3 separate regions of the Homo sapiens genome follow, and regions 2 and 3 are each linked to region 1. Evidence: promoter capture Hi-C in human tissues and cell types (Jung and others, 2019). All regions are on one chromosome and are shown on one strand. The core of a region is centred on a gene start or on the middle of the fragment in contact, and the rest is flanking DNA. Distances in the headings are between cores, read along the strand shown. Region 1 holds the start of F13A1 (coagulation factor XIII A chain). Region 2 overlaps F13A1 (coagulation factor XIII A chain). Region 3 overlaps LY86-AS1 (LY86 antisense RNA 1).

What was found. Contacts are between HindIII fragments. The study calls those that stand out against the background at their distance.
Region 2: a fragment that was not itself captured here is called in contact with the fragment with the promoter of F13A1 in region 1 in 3 of the 25 tissues and cell types used here (mesenchymal stem cells, mesendoderm cells and ovary).
Region 3: a contact is called between a fragment that was not itself captured here and the fragment with the promoter of F13A1 in region 1, in 6 of the 25 tissues and cell types used here (aorta, dorsolateral prefrontal cortex, hippocampus and 3 more).

What each region holds. Positions count from the first base shown.
Region 1 is chr6:6,319,086-6,321,996 of GRCh38, forward strand. It overlaps F13A1 (coagulation factor XIII A chain), which reads right to left and starts at 1,577. Exons shown (of 15, transcript NM_000129.4): 1 at 1,502-1,577. All of the region lies in intron 1 of LOC124901253 (a long non-coding RNA gene), which reads left to right. The HindIII fragment of the contact is 8,313 bases long and covers 1-2,911 here.
Region 2 is chr6:6,241,229-6,244,379 of GRCh38, forward strand. The region is part of intron 6 of F13A1 (coagulation factor XIII A chain); the gene reads right to left. Among named protein-coding and RNA genes, the nearest start is that of MIR7853, 73 kb to the left of the region's middle. The HindIII fragment of the contact is 3,808 bases long and covers 1-3,151 here.
Region 3 is chr6:6,416,667-6,419,910 of GRCh38, forward strand. All of the region lies in intron 4 of LY86-AS1 (LY86 antisense RNA 1), which reads right to left. Among named protein-coding and RNA genes, the nearest start is that of F13A1, 98 kb to the left of the region's middle. The HindIII fragment of the contact is 7,946 bases long and covers 1-3,244 here.

The sequences.
Region 1 (2,911 bases), core at 327-2,826:
AAGTCACTTTTAAGAATAAACGCACACAACCATGTCCAGACAAATGTTGTCTTCTAAAGCGTTTACATTTGCAATTTAATTCAACCAATATTTATTGAGGGCCTATGACATGCCAGGCTGTGATCTAGGTACATGGGATACATCAGAGAACAAAACAGAATGTTTGCTCTGATAGATTATAGTCTGATAGGGTTAGGGTGGAGCCCAAGAAGAGCCATAAGTAAATCCACTTAGGGGTGAGGAGGTAGGAACTGCTTTGGAAATTGAGCCACATGGAGGAGGATAAGGAGGTGGAGAGGTTGGGCATGCAATTTTCAATAGGGCTATCAATAGGCTTAAGAAGTCAGGGTTGCCAACATTTCCCATTCCCCAAGCCTGCTTCCCCTTCCCTTGGAGCTTGTGCAGGCACTGAGCCAGTTTAAACAACACACACCTGACGGTCAGTGCCCAGTAAGTACTTGTTGACCAAATGACCAAATGAAGGGGGACTTTGTTTCTGGGCCCAGTGAAGGTTCCCCCTTGATCCCCTGGATTACCCAGTCATGACTCCTGGAGACTTGGCTATTTTCAAAAACCAGGCACACCCCCAAGAGGTGAAGAGTCCCCATTATAGAGGCCACCAGAGTAGAGAGATGGTTCCAGAGACATGTGGAGCACTAACAACATGCTGGAGAAAAGACAACCACGCCTAAGGTGTCTGGTCTGAGAAGGAGACAGGAGTGTTTGGATGCATAAGGTGTGAATGGGTATCCATAAGTATAGATAAATATATTTACAGTCATTGGTGAGCTGACGGGGGAAGGGAGGGAGAAGAGCGAAAAAGGGTTAATGATAGGGAGAAGGCTGCGAGAGCCATCCTCTAGTGAGAAATACCGAAGGTAGGCTGCGGCATTGCCAGGGGTGCAGAACAGTGTGGCGCGCTGTCGGGAGACACAGTGCTAAGGGGGAGAAGGGGGGAGCCCCAGGTGCACGCCTGGCTGGGTGAGTGCGGCGGGCAGGAGCCCTCGCTTCTGGGCGGGTCTAAGGAGGAGAAGTGGCTCGAGTTCAGCTCCAAATTGGGACGGAGGCAGGCGATGCGCAGGAGTGGGGAGGCGCGCAGGAGTGGGGAGCCAAGCCGGCGGGGTTCCAGTCTAGCAGGCTGTTCTCACTTGGCCCCACTCCCTCCACCTTTTGTGTTCCAGCTCCATAATCTGCTCCCTGAGGAAAGGGGGCTCGTCCCTTGGGGAAGCACCTCCAACTCCCCCATCCCCATTTGGTGGCATTCTAAGCAAGCAACGGCTTCGGGAGAGCTGCCTCGAGAGCCTGAGAGAAGTCCCGCTTAGAAGCTGGGCTGGGCAGGTGCGGAGTTGGGGGCGGGAAGCCAGGATTGGGCAAGTGGAGCTGCCTGTGACCGGCGCCACAGGGCCCAGAGCAAGCCGCTTGCTGGTTCAACCAGGAAACCGAGGTGCAGAAGGTGGACGCAGCGGGCCCTGGCTCATAGGGTGCAGGGTCGGTGGCTTACCTGCAGGCGCTCCCCTCCAGAGGTGCCCTCGCGTGGGCTTGCTCTGTGCGCCTCGGGGACTTCCTCAAACGGACTCGGGAAAGACAAGACAGTTGGCTCTTAAATAACTTCCTAAGAGGAGCCCTCACCCTCCTCCCCTGTCCCACAGGGTTTTCTCCTCCCCCTTCTCCACAGCTGGAGCCAGTAGGGGAGCTCAGAGGATTTTCTATTTACTTCATCTGGCCTGTTATCCCGGCAGGTGCGCCCTTCTCTCCCACTTGCCCCTCTGACTCCCAATTTCCCATTCCCACTTCTCCTCCCCATCCCCATCCCTAGATCTGCCCTCCCCACCGCAACCAGTTGCTGGGAGTACCAGGCAAGGGGCCCTGCAGTGCCAGGAAGTCCCCACCCGTCCCCTTTGGTCAGAGGGTCTGGGAGGGTTTCCTTTACAAAGGAATGCTTTTGCCTGGCAGGTCAGCTGCTACTGTGGCTTGGCAGGAGGGGGGTCTGCCCTCCCACAGACAGGTCACACAGACAGTTGTGACCATGCATGCAGTGAGAGCAACGTGTCCCTCCTGTGCAAATAAGGCATGGTCTGCATTCCTGAATCATCCCAGAGCCACAGCCACCGCCTAACCACAAGACTTCCTGCAGGAATGGGATGCCTAGCCCCAAGGAAGATGAGTAAACATCTTTAATAATGCCATGCAGATTAGAAAATAACACTTGGTTTTCTCTGAAAATCATTTTAGTGCATGTTCAAAAATTAGAAAATTTTCCCCCTAAAATTTTAATTTTTTTCTTTTACTCTTTCTTTCTTTCTTTCTTTCATCTTTCTATCTTTCAGATGAAGTCTTGCTCTGTTGCAAAGGCTGGAGTGCAACCTCCACCTCCCGGGTTCAAGTGATTCTTCTGCCTCAGCCTCCCAAGTAGCTGGAACTACAGGTGCATGCCACCATGCCCGCCTAATTTTTGTATTTTTAGTAGAGATGGGGCTTTACCATGTTGGCCAGGCTGGTCTCGAACTTCTGACCTCAGGTGATCCACCCTCCTTGGCTTCCCAAAGTGTTGGGATTACAGGCGTGAGCCACCGCACCCAGTCAAACATGGCTATTTCTAACCTTCTTTACTGTCTTCAAATTTCTGACCCTGCCACTCAATCTCCCAATGTTATAAAGAAGAAAAAAAAAGATGCCATTGGTTAGAAATTCTCTCAATTTTCTGCTACCAATCTATGAACCTGCCTGCAACCTTATCTATCTTTTCCTCTTTCTTCTTGTTACTGAAGTTGGAAAGGTCCCTCCTCCCTCTGCATCTCCAAACCAGGCTTCTGCGTTGCCTTGTTCTCCGGGGCTTTGCTGTGACTCTTACGTACTCTTCCTCTTGCAGCTTCAAGCTCCTGCTTGCTAATAGTGGGTCTTCTCAGCATTC
Region 2 (3,151 bases), core at 517-3,016, 78 kb before region 1:
TGGCAGTGGTCACCACCTGGGGAATTTTGACCTCTAGGCATCTGTGGGTTAGTAATGCAGGTAGGCTGTTGTCGCTTTTATAAAAGACCAGATGGAAGTTGTATCTTTACCCCCACAAAGTGACACCGAATCATATTCAGTGTGGTCATACTCATTATCTGGTAGAGATGATTACCACCACCGCCACCATCATTAGAAGTTCCCATTGGCAGTTATATAAATCTGACACAAGAATGGGGTAACAAGGTATTATTACATAATCATGATTTGTTTTGATAGATGAACTTTTTCAAAAATTAAAATCCATATGGGTAAATGTGAAAAAGTTCCTTGGTGATTTAGAAATGCCAAGGACAATGCCCATTGAGCACCTGGGTCCTCAGATGTATCTACGACCGTTCACTCCAAAAAAAGAGGTTTAAGCTGCTTTATAAACCAAAGGATGGGTTAGATATTGCTTTGTAATTAAAATTTTTCTTAATAAAACTGTTACGAAAGTACCTTGTGACTGGTCTGTATGATCAAGGAATAAACTTTAGAAATAAATACAAACTTTATATATTTATTTCTGTCTTTACAGTTCATTTGGGATGACTCAGGTGTGAAATTTCTAATCAAAGTGAACTTTTAAATGTAATCTGAATATTTATAATTAAGGTTTGTTGCATGAAGAGGTTTGCTCAACGTGAAGCTTCCTATAAGATGACCAAGTAAACAATTGAAAGAAAATGAACAAAACATGGTTTTATAGTTAACCCCTTGAGGAGCTGCTTGGCAAGATATAAAAGTAGTTATGTCATTACTGTCTTTTTCATGCATGGAAAGAAAAAAATCTTTCTAAATACTGGGACAAAAAGAGGGGGAGGAAAAGATGGACAAAGGGAAAATAACTTTATTTTCTGTTTATCTGTAGGATCACAGATGCATGAGGATCAGAAGCACTAAAGTCCATTTCATCTCAAAGGTCTACAGTCATTCATCTTGTACTGTGTCCTAGAAAAATCCAGGACCTACTCCGAATTGTGGTCAGTTTGATTTACTAGCTGAAGTTCAAGATTTTTTTACAATGCTAAAGAGTACATCGAACATCGATTGGTTAAAAAAGTTTAGTCATGAGTTAGTTCCCAAAAGGCATAGTCAGAGCAAAGTATTAATGGGGATTAATGATGGCATTGTGGTTCGATATTAGCAAAAGGCCAGGGTTAAAAATAAATGCATACATCTCAAGGGAAGCTGGATAGTCCAGGATGGCAGCAGTACAAACACTGAAATTTAAAAATATGTAACTATATTGACGTTTTTTTCTCTCCTCCTACTTTCCTAATTTTCTCATTAATATTACCTTTTTTCTTACTACAACTGAATCAGAATACCATGGATCAAGTAACTGTAAATGTTGAGATCCTATGGAATAAACTTCAGTTGTGTCAACCTTAGTTTTCTGAATTGCAAAACAAACAAGCCCCCAGAAGAGCAAATAACCCTCTACTACATTTTTCTTCAGTGCTTTTGGTGACTAGCTGTTTGTATATAATTTCCACCATGGAGAAAGGGTTTCTTCAAATAATAGCATGGTTAATTACTGTGGGACCTCAGACATTCTTCTATCTTTTGATCCAATGTTTAGTCCTGGGAAACCTTTGAGCTACATTTGAGAGATTTGCTTTCCCATACAACCCTATGCTTATTTCCATCACAGAATTTGCCATGCTGAGCTAAAATTTTCTATTTACTAGTCTGTGTTCTCTGTTAGACTGTAAGCTTTGTGAAGGCAGAAACTTAATTTTGTTCACAATTGTACTCCAGTGTTCAGACTGGTAGATTGCCATAAACATTTGTCAAACAAATGAGTAAATACTGAGTGTTTTACCACCATCACCACCACCACTACCACTATCACCACCATCATAAATCACCACCACCACCACATTACGCCATCACCACCACTACCACCATCACTCCCACCACCATCACTCCTACCATCACCACCACCATCACCGTCACCATCTCCACCACCACCATCACCATCATCATCACTATCACCACCATAATCACCCTACCATCACCACCATTATTATCACAATCACTATCACCACCACCGTCACCACCACCATCATCACTAACTCTATCACCACCACCACCAAACACCACCACCATTATCATATCATATTTGGTACCTGATCGTCTTTGGAAGCTCATTCTCCAGGGCCCCAGTGCCTATGGCTATTTAGAATCCTCTGATTGATACCTTTCTTCACTTATTCCCCATTTTCAATAATTTGCCTCATCTGGGCTCCATTCCCTTGGGGCTCTCTTCTTTTCTAGGAAATGGCAATTCAATCTTACATAATTATTGTGTTATTGGCAATAACGTGTTGATAGTGGCCCTCTAAGGTAATATGATCTGAGAGTAAGGACCATATCTGGTTTCAGCTCAGCCACTTATTTGCTGTGTGACTTTGAGTGAGGGACACCACTTCCAAGGGCTTCTGCTTCCTCACCCAGAAGACTCTTGGAGAGTCCTCCCCATTGCACACGCTGGTTCAGCATGTGTTTCGACACAGATCCTCCACTGGTAATGCCTTGACCCACTGGAGCAAATATGGATGGAGGTGGTACATGTAGGTGTGTCACAGTGAATAACGAGCCTTTATCTGCAGTAGCGGCAGCCTTTGCAGAAGCAGCTGCATCTCCTTGGGGGAAATTCTCTGCCCATAGTTGCTGCCAGATCCTATCAGTCGGGAGGCAGGAACAGGCATAGACAGGTAACCACGCCGCAGTAATGCCAGGTGGTTGCACAGCCTTCCCTTTTCCCCAGAACCATGCTGCCCTTGTCACAATATGTCACGGCCCACCTTCTTTGATAGTCTGACTCAGGGCTCAGAGTCCATGTCTGGCTTATTCACAGAAACTTGGGGCTAGCAATAGAATGCTTTATTAATGCCATGTGAGGGAAGTAAGTGTTCGGATGGCACAAAGTTAAGCATTCTCCTTAGCTTTCTCTGGCAATTTTCCTGGTGGGAACTGTCACATCAGAAATGCATTGAAAAGAAAGCAGCAATCAAGCAATGCAATTTAAAGGGAGAAGTATAACTGTGGGCAAGTTTCTTCATTTTTTCTAATTGCTTCTCTTTTTTTTCTTTTCTCTCTT
Region 3 (3,244 bases), core at 713-3,212, 98 kb after region 1:
AAGGTCCCAAGAGAGCAGTTCCTGCCCCAGGGACACAGGGCCATCAATGCACATACACTGAAGATCACATGGCATGGCTGGATTTCTTTCCTAATGAAACTTCATGTTAAGGCATAGGACCATCATTTCTGCCCTACGGGAAAGTGGGATTTCCTGGGAAGAACTGTTTGGGGCTTCATCCTCTTAGAAGCTAGACAGCTCCAAGAGGCAATAGAAGACCCTTTTGGCTATGAGCAACTGCAACACAAGATTTTCATTCCAAAGTGAGAATCCCAAAAGTCCAAGGGCCATGGAATAAGATAACAAAGCTTCCCAGGCCTAATATTTAGCAATTTGTCACCTTGCTCTTCTCAAACAGGGAAAAAACCTGGTCCCAAGGTAATCAGATTTCTAACACTGAGGAGCCTTTCGGGAGGTGGGAGCGACAACTGTTACGAACTCCTTGTAGCTCTTGCTAAGCTGTGGTTCCTGGGAGCACCCAAGCTGAATGTGGGTGGCACAGCTCTAAAACGTTCTTTTCCAATTTGTTCTAAATCCTCCACATGCTGGGAAACTGGACCACTTGCCAGAAGCAGGGCCCGGCCCCTCCAGCTCTGATTTTCAGTAGCCAATAGGACAAAATGGACTGCCAGAAGCTACGCATCTTGATGTCCAGGTGATGCTACCCTGTAAGCAACAAGCTTTTTAAAAAAATTCTGGAGTTTTACACATGCTCTGAAGAAAACAATCTTTTTGGATTTTTGCTTCAAGTCAGTGACATCTTTGATGGAGCTGGGTAATTGGAAAAGGGATTTAAATATGTCTGGAGGTTTCCCACACTGTAGAATTTGCAAACACTGTACGGAATCCGTAAGCAAACAGAATTTACAAAGAACCTCTCCCCTCTGGAATTATTCAAGGATCCAGTTTGAAGAGATTTTAGTTTATTTTGAGGTGATGCCAGAAGGCCTTGAAAAGAAGAACAAAGCAGAGTGGGGTGTGGTGTGGCGGGGAGGGACAGAGGGTGGGAGTCAGGGAGTGTCACTTTCTGGTAGAGAAAAAAAGACTGGTATGATCACCCATCTGTGATGGTGACAGAGCAGTTAAAAGGAAAAGCTCTAGGGATGAGGCTGCCCTAGAGTCATTGTTAACGCGTGCGTGTGTTTGTGTGTGAGTGCACATTGCGTGTTTCTAAAACACATTCTCTTTTAATTCATTAAGCAGAGAGAATATTCTTTGAACAACCTGCTCATTTTCCTGCATAGAAGCTATTGCTGGACACACAGAACCCTGCATACCTGTGCACACACATGTGTAGAGGCACTCAGTTCCATCTGGAGGTGGACCATTCATTCACAACGCCTTACACTCGCAACCATTTAAACTGCTTAGAAATGCCTAGGGACCCTCCACCCACCACTCCCACTATGGACTCCAAGAGACTGCACTTCACAGTCTCTGGAGTGATTTTTTAAATAAACATTTTTCATTTTAAAATAGTTTTAGATTTACAGAAAAAAATTGAGAAGATAGTACAGAGAGCCTCCATATACTCCACACATTCATTTCCCCCTATTTATTTACATATTTATGATTATTTATTTATTTTAAGAGAGGGTCTACCTCTGTCACCCAGGCTAGAGTGCAGTGACACAAGCATGGCTAAATGCAGCCTTGAACTCCTGAGCTCAAGCCTTCTTCTTGCCTTGACCTCTGAAAGTGCTGGGATTACAGGTGCAAGTAATTGCACCAGACCCTCCCTTATTATTATCTTACCTCAGTATGATGCATTTGTTGCAATTAATGAACCAATATTGATAGATTATTATGAACTGAAGTTCATACTTAGTTTTTACTTAAAGTCCTTTTTCTGCACCAGGATCCCATCCAGGATACCCCATTATATTTAGTCCTCTTATCTCCTTAGGTTCCTCTTGGCTGTGACCGTTTCTCAGAGTTTCCTTGTTTTTTGATGACCTTGACAGTTTTGAAAAGTACCGGTCAACCGTTTTGTAGAATATCCTTCAACCAGGATTTTTCTGACATCTGTCTTGTGATTAGGCTGGAATTGTGGATTTAAGAGAGGAAGACCATGGAGGCAAGATGCCATTGTCATCCTACTACAACAAGGATACATGATATCAATGTCTTTTCACTGTTGACATTGGCCTTCATCACCTGACAGGGTAGTGTTTGTCAGGCTTCTCCAATGCACGCCATGCTCTTTGGAAGGAACTTACCGTGTGCAGCCTGCACTTAAAGAGTGGAGAACTATGCTTACCTTTCTTGAGGGGAGAGTATCTACCTAAATTAATTCTGCATGGGACATGTGTCTGTTTTTCTCCAGTTATTTATTTATTCAATCAATAATTTATTTATACTAGTATGCACTCATCAATATTTACTTTATGCTTTAGTTTATATTCCATACTACTTTACTTTGTTGCTCAAAATAAAGTTTTGGCCACTGGGAGCTCTTTTAATTCACTCCTGTGTCTCTTTGACACCCTTCTCCCACCCACCCCAAACCTTGCGATATTATGGCTTAAAAAAAATACTTCCATTACTTTCTAGAGCTACAAGATATTTCAAGTTCATCTTGTCTATTTCCTGTCCCGGTCCTAGAATTATTATTTCCCTGAGGAGCCCTGGTTTCTTTTATTGAAGACTATTAATATTAGAAAACAAGATCTGGGCACTAGGTGTGCTCACTGCTACTGGGGTATACCCACAGCCCTTCTTCTAGACCTCTCAGCTGACAGAGCAAGGGTATATATGTGTGCACACTAACCTTCTTATATGCATATATCTATAACTATTGCTTTATGTAACCATCTGTAACCTATATTAAGCTAATTATGATGTCTCCTCTGAGGGATTTTAAAATGTAGAATATTGCTTAAAAATTAGATCTATTTCTTAGAAAGAACATTCTAAGAGGATTCTAATCTAGACTATTAGAGGAAGAAACTTGAACCACAGATATCTGTATAAATGTGTTTCAGAAGGTCAAGGCCTGATTAAGCTAGTGGCAGAGTATATCCTAAGACCTTGAATAGCCAACAGATGGAATTAAGCAGTTTTAAAAAATAAGGCTTATTGTCATTGTTAAGAATTTGCTTCCACTAAACTTTGTATTTTTTACCCCTTAGAAGTCACAGATGTGAATTCACCACTTTTTTAAATTTTTCAAATATTTTATTTGGCTTTTTATAAAATAGAATATTTTTTAGAGCAGCTTTAGCTTCACAGCAAAATTGAGTGG